Regions from separate parts of the Homo sapiens genome. Here region 2 is linked to region 1. Evidence: promoter capture Hi-C in human tissues and cell types (Jung and others, 2019). All regions are on one chromosome and are shown on one strand. Each heading gives the region's core, a stretch centred on a gene start or on the middle of the fragment in contact. The rest is flanking DNA. Distances are from core to core; before and after follow the strand shown.

Region 1 (6,008 bases), core at 1,708-4,207:
GCTGAGATGGCACCACTGCACTCCAGCCTGGGGGAAAGGGCGAGACTCATCTCAAAAAAAAAAAAAAAAGGCTGTTAAGCAGGGTTCTGTGCAAGAAGGCTCACACCGGCTCATTCTTTTAGCCAAAAACTGTGCTACATCCGTAAAACACTACACTACGCGGCTGCAAATAAGAACAAACCACTGAACATCAGCAAACCACTGATAAATTTCATAAACATGCTGAAAAAAGAAGGCAGACAAAAAAACAGTGCTTCACATAGGTTCTCTTTATAAGACCACTGTAATCTATCGTCACAGGAAGCAGATTAATAGTTTACTGGGGAGGCCGGGCGCGGTGGCTCATGCCTGTAATCCCAGCCCTTTGGGAGGCCGAGGCCGGCAGATCACGAGGTCAGGAGATCAAGACCATCCTGGCTAACATGGTGAAACCCCATCTCTACTAAAAATACAAAAAAATATTAGCCGGGCATGGTGGCGGGCACCTGTGGTCCCAGCTACTCAGGAGGCTGAGGCAGGAGAATGGCATGAACCTGGGAGGCGGAGCTTGCAGTGAGCCGAGATCGCACCACTGCACTCCAGCCTGGGGGACAGAGTGAAACTCCCTCTCAAAAAAAAAAATAGTTTACTGGGGAGCAGGGAAAGGAGGTTGACCTCAGAAAGGCACAAAGAAACCTTCTAGAAGGGTGGAAATGGGCTGGGCGTGATGACTCACGCCTGTAATCCCAGCACTTTGGGAGGCCAAGGCGGGAGGATCACCTGATGTTGGGAGTTTGAGACCAGCCTGGCCAACATGGTGAAACCCCATCTCTACCAAAAATGCAAAAACTACCCAGGTGTGGTGGCGGGCGCCTGTAATCCCAGCTACTCGGGAGGCTGAGGCAGGAGAATCGCTTGAACCCAGTGGTCGGAGGTTGCAGTGAGCCGAGATCGCACTACTGCACTCCAGCCTGGGCAACAGAGAGAGACTCTGTCTCAAAAAAAGATAAAAGAAAGAAAGAAAAGGTGGAAATGTTTTATATCTTGATTGGGGGTGTTTGGGGTTATACAATTGTCAAAACTCATCAACCTATATTTAAAATGGATTCATTTTACTGTATATAAATTATAGCTTAACAAAGTTGATTTTTCTTGTATTTTATTTTTTCAAGAAGGCTCTCCCTCTGTCACCCAGGCTGGAGTGCTGTGGTGTGATCACAGCTCACCGCAGCCTCAAACTCCTGGGCTCAAGCAATCTTCCCACCTCTGCCTTCCGAGTAGCTGGGGCCACAGGCACTTGCCATCACACCTGGACAACTTTTTTAGCTTTTTGTAGAGACAGGGTCACTTTGTTGCCCAGGCTGGTGTCAGACTCCTGGCATCAAGCAATTCTCCTACCTTGGCCTCCTAAATGCTGGGATTACAGGCACACACCACTGCACCTGGCCTAAAGTTGATTTTAAAAGAAAAAAAATACATTTTAAAAAAAGAGAAGGCCGGGTGCGGTGACTCACGCCTGTAATCCCAGCACTTTGTGAGGCTGAAGCGGAAGGATCACAAGGTCAGGAGTTCAAGACCAAGCTGGCCAACATGGTGAAACCCCGTCTCCACTAAAAATACAAAAATTAGCCGGGCGTGGTGGCACATGCCTGTAATCCCAGCTACTTGGGAGGCTGAGGCAGGAGAATCGCTTGAACTCGGGAGGTGGAAGTTGCAGTAAGCTGAGATCGTGCCACTGCACTCCAGCCTGGCCAACAGAGCGAGACTCCGTCTCAAAAAAAAAAAAAAAAATACACATATAGATATGTAAAAATACATACACATATATATGTATATACGTATATATATGGCCACGAGGACTGTGCAGCCTGATCACCATACCAGGGTGTGCCTGAGTCCAAAGCCTATGATCTTGATGGCAAGAAAACGGTGACGTAAAGGGGCTGCACAGTTTAATGGGGGCCCCAATAGCAAATATGCAAAATAGGCACATGAGGAAAAGACTGGAAGAGGCTAAAACGCCATCAAGGTCAGGCTGACGGGAGATGGATGTGATTTTATTGTTCTATTATGGTTGTATTTCAATCATAATAAAAGGGAATTCTAACTTTTAAAAATGCTTTACCATGTTAATAGCTAAAATGGGAAATGACCCAAATACTCAGCAACAAAGGCTCCGTTTAAAAGCGTGTGTGGCACGTCCATCCAACAGAGCAGGGCGTGATTCCGTCCTCTTCCCGAAAAGGCCCAAAGGGAGAGGTGGAACTGCTGTGGGATTTTTTGAGGACGGTCTTCCCGGGAATTTTCCATTTCTGCTTTTCTTATTTTTCAATGTTATCTTACTACCTGGGTTACGTGTCACGAGCTCAGGTTATTTCTACCACCAGAGCCTGGGGTGGAGGATACAGACCTCGCCCACTGGAGCTGCCCACAGCGCCTCGCCGGCCCCTCCTGCCTCCTTCGTCCCGCACATCCGCTGCTGCCCTGACACACCCCGATTCCCTGGTGCCAGGGAGAGCCAGGGCAGAGGTGGCCCTGAGACGCCACGCGACGGGGAGGGCTAGAGCGTAAGGAGGAGCGAGGTGCGCATTCGCTGTGACCCTGGCGCTCGGCTTCGCCTCTCTGGGCCTCGGTTTCCACCCCGCGGGAGCGAGTACGACAGGGGCTGCGCGCATTGCCGCAGTCACGCCTGCAAGAGCCGGGCCGGGTGAGCCGCTTCCGGCGCTCCGCGGGGGCCCCGGACGATCCAGCAGGGGCTCCGCCCTGGGACCCCCATCCTGTCTTGGGGCGTGACCTTCGGGGGCGCACGCGGTGCCGGCCGCGCCCGGGGAAGCCGGGTCCGCATCCGAGCATCAGGACAGCCTGCGGCCGCCCCATTGGCCGGCGTGTCTCTGCAGGGCCGTCCCACAGCCAATAGCGGCCAAGGGGCGGAGCCTGGCCGGTGCCCTCGGAGCTGCTGGCCCCGGGCGGCTGCTCCAGTCTGAGCGCCCTCCGCTCGCCCCGAGAGAGACCCGGCCATGCAGGAGCCGCTGCTGGGAGCCGAGGGCCCGGACTACGACACCTTCCCCGAGAAGCCGCCCCCGTCGCCAGGGGACAGGGCGCGGGTCGGGTGAGAGTCGCTAGGTTGGGGGCTGCGGGTGGGGCCTGGGGGTGGCCCTGGTTCCCTCCAGCCGGCGGCAGGCTCCCGCCCTGGGCCTCCCCTGACCTAGTCGCCACCGAGGGGCCATCTGGCTCCCTCCTGTCCCAGACACGCTACTCCTATTTAAGGAACTGGTCCCCCTAAGGGAAGGAACGATCCACGAGAGTACCGGGCCCAGCCCCCCACTGCCACAGACAGTGAGACTGAGGCCCCAGCGAGCAGGGGTTCTGCCTGAGGTCACACAGCAAGCCTCCAGCCGCCGCCCTGGGGGCAGAACCAGAGCCTCCTCTTCCGGAGAAAAGGCCCCAGCACCAGAGGCTCAGCCACTGCGGATGAGCTAACAATGGCCTGGGAATTTCCCAGGGGAGCTGGGGCTCAGGCCCTGGGAACGTGAATGGCCTTGGACCCAGGCCTCCCTAGCACTGCCCGCTGAGCCGGGCAGCCACTGGGTTCAGAAAAGGCAATGGTCCCTGGAGGAGGGACTCAGAGACCCTGGTCTTTTTGTCCGCCACCATCACCAGGACCCTGCAGAACAAAAGGGTGTTCCTGGCCACCTTCGCCGCAGTGCTCGGCAATTTCAGCTTTGGGTATGCCCTGGTCTACACATCCCCTGTCATCCCAGCCCTGGAGCGCTCCTTGGATCCTGACCTGCATCTGACCAAATCCCAGGCATCCTGGTTTGGGGTAAGGACCATCCTCTGGAGGAGGGTGGGTGCAGGAAGGAGGGACCTGCTGAGCCTTATCTCCAGCTAGGAACCTCCCAAATTCTCCACCTTGGGGGTCCCTCCAGGGCCCTGGTCCCCCCTCCCCCAGCCATCCAGGCCACTAGTGGGTGGGGTAAAGCTACAGGATTCCTCTGAAATGAGGAACTGAAAGCCAGTGGAGAGGGTGAGGGAAGGAGCAGGTGGGGAGGTGGCTGTCAGGGTCTATACTAGGTGGGGCTGAGGCTTCCCCGGGTCCCCACACCCACAGTTGGCTGGATGGGGGCAAGGGTATCAGGTGTCAGTGGGGAGAGGCACTGGCTGGGGCAAGGAGAGTCCGCAGGACAGATTGTGGGCTGATGGAGAGGAAGATCCCAGAGTCCCAGAGTCTAAAATTATAATCTTAATAGCCTCATATGTAGAGTTGTTAACATAGTAGTTAAGATAAAAATTCCCAAGGTTTACTGAGCACTTCCTATGTGCCAGGCATGTGTTGGGCACTGAACGTTCATTGATTCTCAGGGCCAACGCCACGAGGTAGAACTTGCGCTCTCCCCATAAGACAGCTGAAGAAACTGAGGTGCAGACAGGCTGGGCAATGTGCCCAGGTCCCACTACCAGTTAGCAGAGTCCAGAGGGGGTCCCAGTTGCTGCTGTACAGGGAACTTAAGAACCTCCAAATCTTAAAGCCCAGTACCTTCAAGTCACAGAATTCTCCTGTATTAAAATATTAGACATTTAAACATCAGGCTGGACAGAACCACTGTGGATATGTGGCGCAGCACCTCTTCCTTAGAGCAGAATTCCCCGTTTGGGCATCCCTAACAAATGGCTGTTCCTTGAAGACAGGAGGCTCCCTGTTTCAAGTGCTTGACTTGGCCAAGTGCTTGACCAGCTCCTGGGGTCGGCCTAGGGAAGAAGCTGTCCCTGGACTCTGATGAGATTGGGGTGCCAAGTGCCCAGACATATCTGCCCTGCACCCCCTTCCCCTGCAGTCCGTGTTCACCCTGGGAGCAGCGGCCGGAGGCCTGAGTGCCATGATCCTCAACGACCTCCTGGGCCGGAAGCTGAGCATCATGTTCTCAGCTGTGCCGTCGGCGGCCGGCTATGCGCTCATGGCGGGTGCGCACGGCCTCTGGATGCTGCTGCTCGGAAGGACGCTGACGGGCTTCGCCGGGGGGCTCACAGCTGCCTGCATCCCGGTAAGGCCAGGCCTTCCCACCCAGGCGCCCCAATGCCTCTGTATTGGTGCTGAGCCTCCATCTGACTAAGGCCTCCCAGCCTCCATGCCTTCTGGGCAATGAGAATTGTTTGCCTTCCCTGCGGATGCCCAGGGCGCCTCAGCTCACCCCCAGCAGGGCAGCTAATTTGGGGGAAATTGTCTCCAGGTCCCCAGCTGCCCCCACTCTGGACTTTCCAAGCCTTCTACCCCGTTTCTTGACCGGTCAGATGTATTACTCAATTGGAGAAAATCCGCATTGAGCAATGGGTAGGAGAGGGAAGTCCCTGCCCTACACCCTCCCCGGGACCTTCTTATCTTATGTGGTACTCCACACGGGGCCTGGTGGTGAGCCCAGCAGAGGAGACAAAACTCACTGGGAGGCATGGACTCACCTGCTCAGCCCTGAAGCCTGGGAGCCCTCGGGCCTCCTTCCCAGCGTCATGCTGCCCATTTCCGAGCTGCGTACTTCCACCCACGTCACAGTTAGGGAAACTGAGGACAGAGAGAGATCAGGCAGGCCGCCCAAGGTCTTGCAGTGAGTCATGACCAGGACTCAGCCCCACCAGAAAGCCTCCACTTCCCACTTTCCGGGGTTCACAGGGGCTGACTCTCCCATCTCGGCCGGGCCTAGGAACCAGTATTTTCAGCAAAACCTGGTGCGGCGGCTGTGTCTTGCAGGTGTACGTGTCTGAGATTGCTCCCCCAGGCGTTCGTGGGGCTCTGGGGGCCACACCCCAGCTCATGGCAGTGTTCGGATCCCTGTCCCTCTACGCCCTTGGCAAGTATGGCCCCGCACTCCTGTGTGCAGGCTGGTGGGAGGGGTGGGTGCCGCCAAGGTAGACGTGGGTGGAAAGGGAATGATTTGTCCCAGAACAGATCCTGGGCTGAGAGGCAAGAGATCTGGCATCCCGGCCCCACTCAGTCAGCACCTTGCTGGGCACCTCCAGGCAGGGCCTGCCCCTCTAGC
Region 2 (5,441 bases), core at 292-2,791, 460 kb after region 1:
TGAAATATTGTGATACAGAGACATGAAGTGAACATACACTGTTAAGAAAATGAAGCCAATAGTCTTGCTGGACCCAGGGTTGCCACAAACCTTCAATTTGTTAAAAAAAAAAAAAAAAAAAAAAAAAAACAGGCTGGGTGCAGTGGCTCACGCCTGTAATCCCAGCACTTTGGGAGGCCGAGGCAGGCAGATCACCTGAGGTCAGGAGTTCAAGACCAGCCTGGCCAACAAAAATTAGCCAGGCATGGTGGTGCACACCTGTAATCCCAGCTACTCAGGTGGCTGAGGCAGGAGAATCACTTGAACCCAGGAGGCGGAAGTTGCAGTGAGCCGAGATTGTGCCATTGCACTCAAGCTTGGGCGAGAGAGGAAGACTCCATCTCAAAAAAAAAAAGAAAAAAGAAATATCTGAAAATTGCATAAAATAGAGCATTATAAAACCAGGTGTGCCTGTATAGTATATTCACCTTTAGAGGTCTTCCAGAGAGACTAGCCTGTAATTTTTCTTTCTTGTAAAGTCCTTGCCAGTTTTGTACAGCAAGGTTTATGTTAGCTTTATACAATAAATTGAAAAGTGTTCTCTCTTTTTCCATTCTCTTTGTGTAAATTTGTACATGACTTATCTTTCTTTTCTTTTTTTATTTTGTCTTTTTTAATTTTTGTTTTTGTACATGATTTCTTTTTTTAAATGTTGGGAATGGGAGGGAGGTTTGTGAGAAAGTCTTAAATTACAGATTCAGATCAAGGACTACTCAGATTTTCCATTTCTTATTGTGTCAGCTTTGGTAAGTTATGTTTTATTAGGGATTATTCAATTTCATCTAAATTTGCAAATCTATTGAGATAAAGTTATTCATAATATTCTCTTATGACCTTTTTATAGTACTCCATTGGGGTATAATTTATTTGTAGTAAAATGCACAAATCTGAAGTGTACACCTTCATGAATTTTTTGTTTGTTTGTTTTGAGACAGAGTTTTGCTCGGTCACCCAGGCTGGAGTGCAATAGTGCGATCTCAGCTCACTGCAACCTGTGCCTCCTGGGTTCAAGTGATTTTCCTGTCTCAGCCTCCTGAGTAGCTGGGACTACAGGCACACGCCACCATGCCTGGCTGATTTTTGTATTTTTAGTAGAGACAGGGTTTCACCATGTTGGCCAGGCTGGTCTCAAACTCCTGACCTCAGGTGATCTGCCCGCCTTGGCCTCCTAAAGTGCTGGGATTACAGGCATAAGACACTGCGCCTTGCCCTTCATGAATTTTTGCCTGTGAATTAATACATATACATGGGGCCATTTCCCAGATCAAGAAAAAAAACACTGCCATCATTCCAGAACATCTCATGCCTCTTTCCAGTCAATATGTCCATTGCTGTCAGACCCAACCACTGTTTGATTTCTCTCACCATATGTAACAGTTTGGCTGGAATTATACTCCATATCTGTTCTGTCTGGCTTCTTTTGTTCAACATAATGATTTTGAGATTCATTTATATGGTGTGTATCAAGAGTTGTTCTTTCATATTATTGGCCAGTATATTGTTGGATAAATGTGCTATGCCAACATTTGGTTCTTCATTGTCTTAGTTCAGGCTGCTATAATAAAACACCACAGACTGGGCAGCTTCAGTCACATTTACTTTTCATAGTTCTGGAGACTGGGAAGTGTAAGATCAGAGTGCTGGCAGATTCAGTGTCCATTGAGGGTGCTTTTCATGCTTTGCAAACAGCCATCTTCTCATTGTATCCTCATATGGCAGAGCAGAGAGAGGGGGCCAGCTCTCTCTGGTATCTTCTTATTTTTATTTATTTGTTTGTTTGTTTGTTTTGAGACAGGGTCTCCCCCTGTTGCCCAGGCCAGAGTGCAGTGGCGCGATATCAGCTCACTGCCACTCCGCCTCTCTGGTATCTTCTTATAACAACACTCATCTCATCATGAGGGCTCCAGCCTCATGACCTAATCGCCTTCTAAGCCCCACCTTCTACTATCATCCTATTGGGAGTTAGGGTTTTAACATATGAATTTTGGAGGGATGTAAACATGCAGTCCATAACATCCATTCTCCTACTGATGGCCATTTGGTGGTGTAGCGGATTGCATTTCCCAGCAGTGGCTGCCCAATGAATATCCCATTCCCCATGGTCTTCCTACAATGTGATGTCCAACAATCCTCCATTTTGAGGTGGTGGTCTATATTCCCTCCCCTGGAACCTGGGTGAACCTTTGCAATTGCCTCAGCCAATAGAAAGTGGCAGAAAGGATGCTGCAGAACTTTCAAGGCTGGATCATAAAAGGCAACATGGCCTCTCTTGGGATGCTTGCCCTTGGAACCCAGCCACCATTTCGTGAGAAAACCTAGGCCACACGGAGAGACCAAGTGTTCCAGATGACAGCCACAGCCAGTCTCCCAAGCCAAGGGCCAACATCCAATGCCAGACATGTGAATGAAAGGACATTCAGATGCTTCCAACTGCCAGCCTTTGAGTCTTGTAGCTGAGGTCTCAGACACTACAGAGGAGAAAGAAGCTATTGCCTCTGTGCTCTGTCTGATTATCTGATCTATAGAAACCATGAGAGAGAATAAATACTCACTATTGCTTCAAGCCACTCTATTTTGGGGATAAGTTGTAACGCAGCCTGTGTAACCAGATTACGCGGTTTCTAGTTTTCCACCATTACAAATACAGCTGTGATGAACATTCCTGTACAAGTCATGTCTATGGATATGAATGTTCATCTTGGCTAGACACCTGGGCATGGAACGGCTAAGTCACATGGAGAGTGTGTGCTGAACTGTATAAGAAACTGATGACCTCTTTTCTTTAGCAGTTGTACCATTTTACATTCATCCCAACAGTGTTTGAGACTTCCAGTTGCTCCACATCTTCAACAACACTTAGTATTATGTTAGCTGTACTAATAGGTTGCAGTCATATCTCATTGTGTCTTAAATTTACATTTTTCCCTGACTAATGATGTTATTGAGCATCTTTTAACATGCTTTTTGGCCATTTAAATAACTCGTTTTGTGAAATGTCTGTTCAAAGCTTTTTGCTTTCTTAAATTTAAGACAGGGTCTCACTCTGCTGCCCAGGCTGGATTGCAGTGGTGCGATCACGACTCACAGCAGCCTCAGCCTCCACCTCCTGGGCTCAAGCAGTCCTCTGGCTTCAGTCTCTCAAGTAGCTGGGACCACAGGCATGCAGCACCACACCCAGATAATTCAAATTTTTTTTCTAGAGATAGGGTCTTGCCATGTTGCCCAGGCTGGTCTCAAACTCCTGGCTTCAAGGTATTCTCCTGCCTCAGCCTTCCAAAGTGGTTTTTGCTTTTTTTGTGAGACTGAGTCTCACTCTGTCGCCCAGGCTAGAGTGCAATGGCTTGATCTCGGCTCACTGCAACCTCCTCCTCCTAAGTTCAGGCAATTCTCCTGCCTCAGCCTCCCGAGTAGCTAGGATTACAGGCACCCAACACCACGCTCGACTAATTTTTGTATTTTTAGTAGAGATGGGTTTTCACCATGTTGGCCAGGCTGGTCTCAAACTCCTGACCTCAAGTGATCCACCTGCCTCAGCCTCCCAAAGTGCTGGGATTACAGGCGTGAGCCACTGGGTCTGGCCAGTTTTTGCCTATTTTTAAATCAAGTTAGTTTTAGTAAAATAAAGTTTATTGTATTTTAATTTAGGAGTTCTTTATATATTCTAGATTTAAGTCCTCTGTCGGTGATATGGAGTGGGAAAGTTTTCTCAGAACATGGCTTGGCTGTTCACATTCTTAATGCTGCCTGCTGATGAGTAGAAGTTGTTAGCTTTGACATGGCTAAAACACACTTAAGAATATGTTTAGCTTAAACATATATTTTTTCTTTTATGCTTTATGGTTCCTTTTATGTTGTACTAAAAATATTTTCCAATCTCTAAATTCATAAAGATAGTCGACATTTTCTTCTAGAAGCTTTATAGTTTTAGTTCATTCTTAGTTTTTTCATTGTTATGGTGGAGAATTTGTCTTTCGCAATTTTCAATATCCTCATTCTCTCTCTTTCTCTGTCTTCTCTTCAGTTGAAAATAAAGAGAAATCCACTGTGATTTTTGATTATTATTACTATTTTTTAATTTTTTTTATTTTTTTGAGATAGAGTCACACTCTGTTGCCCAGGCTGGAGTGCAGTGGTGTGATCCCAGCTCACTGAAACCTCTATCTCCCGGGTTCAAGTGATTCTCGTGCCTCAGCCTCCCGAGTAGCTGGGGCTACAGGTGTGTGCCACCATGCTCAGCTAATTTTTTGTGTATTTTTAGTATAGATGGGGTTTCACCGTTTCACCATGTTGCCCAGGCTGATTCTTGAACTCCTGAGCTCAGGCAATTCACCTGCCTCGGCCTCCCAAAGTGCTACGATTATAGGCGTGAGCCACTGGCATGCCCAGCCTGATTATTATTATTATTATCATGGAATTTTTTTTTTTTTTTTTTAATGAGACAGGGTCTCACTCTGTCACCCAGGCTGGAGTGCAGCGGTGCAGTCATGGCTCACTGCAGCCTCAACCTCTTGCGCTCAAGCAATCTTTCCACCTCTGTCTCTTGAGTAGCTGGTACTACAGGTGTGCACTGCCACGCTCATCTTTTTTTTTTTTTTGAGATGGAGTCTCGCTCTGTTGCCCAGGCTGGAGTGCAATGGCTCGATTTCAGCTCACTGCGACCTCTGCCTCCCAGGTTCAAGCGATTCTCCTGCCTCAGCCTCCTGAGTAGCTGGGATTACAGGCACGTGCCACCACGCCTGGCTAATTTTTGTATTTTTAGTAGAGACGGGGTTTCACCGTGTTGGTCAGGCTGATCTCAAACTCCTGACCTCATGATCTGCCTACCTCGGCCTCCCAAAGTGCTGGGATTATAGGCATGAGCCACTGGACCCATGGGTTATTTAAAGTCTATTGCTTAGTATCCAAAAATTGGGGATTTAAAAATAACCTTTTTGTTGTTGACTTCTAGCTTAGTTCCACCATGATCAGAGAACTTATTCTGCATGATTGCATTATCTGAAATTTACTGGGGCTTGCTTTGTGGCCCAGCAGATGGTCAGTCTGGTTAAGTGTTCTGTGTACATTTGAAAGCATCAGGTACAATGTTCTATATTCTTCTTAATTTGCTTTATTTGTTTGCTTTTGTTTTTCGGTCTGCTTGTTCCGTGAGAGATGTGTTAAAATTTCCCACTGTGATTGTGAATTTGCCTATTTCTCCTTTTAGTTTTGTCAGTTTTATTTTGTATATATTTGAGGTCATATTTTTATGCACATATAAATTTAGAAATGTTATATCATTTCTTTTAATCATTATGAAATGTTCTTCTTTATCTCTAGTAAAGTCTAAATTGTGTGATGTTAATATAGCTGTAAGAGATTTATTTTGGTTAGTGTTTTCATGGTATATATCTTTTTCCATCTTC

The links. The method cuts DNA at HindIII sites, captures the fragments that hold promoters and counts their contacts. A contact is called where the count stands out against the background at its distance.
Region 2: a fragment that was not itself captured here is called in contact with the fragment with the promoter of SLC2A6 in region 1 in 1 of the 25 tissues and cell types used here (dorsolateral prefrontal cortex).

Annotation. Positions count from the first base shown.
Region 1 is chr9:133,476,048-133,482,055 of GRCh38, reverse strand. It overlaps SLC2A6 (solute carrier family 2 member 6), which reads left to right and starts at 2,957. Exons shown (of 10, transcript NM_017585.4): 1 at 2,957-3,088; 2 at 3,640-3,802; 3 at 4,815-5,021; 4 at 5,720-5,819. The coding sequence starts at 2,997. RefSeq lists enhancers at 2,446-2,947, 3,368-3,427 and a silencer at 2,558-3,207. The HindIII fragment of the contact is 12,347 bases long and covers 1-6,008 here.
Region 2 is chr9:133,011,404-133,016,844 of GRCh38, reverse strand. No RefSeq gene overlaps it. Among named protein-coding and RNA genes, the nearest start is that of SNORD141A, 6.3 kb to the left of the region's middle. The HindIII fragment of the contact is 3,919 bases long and covers 1-3,500 here.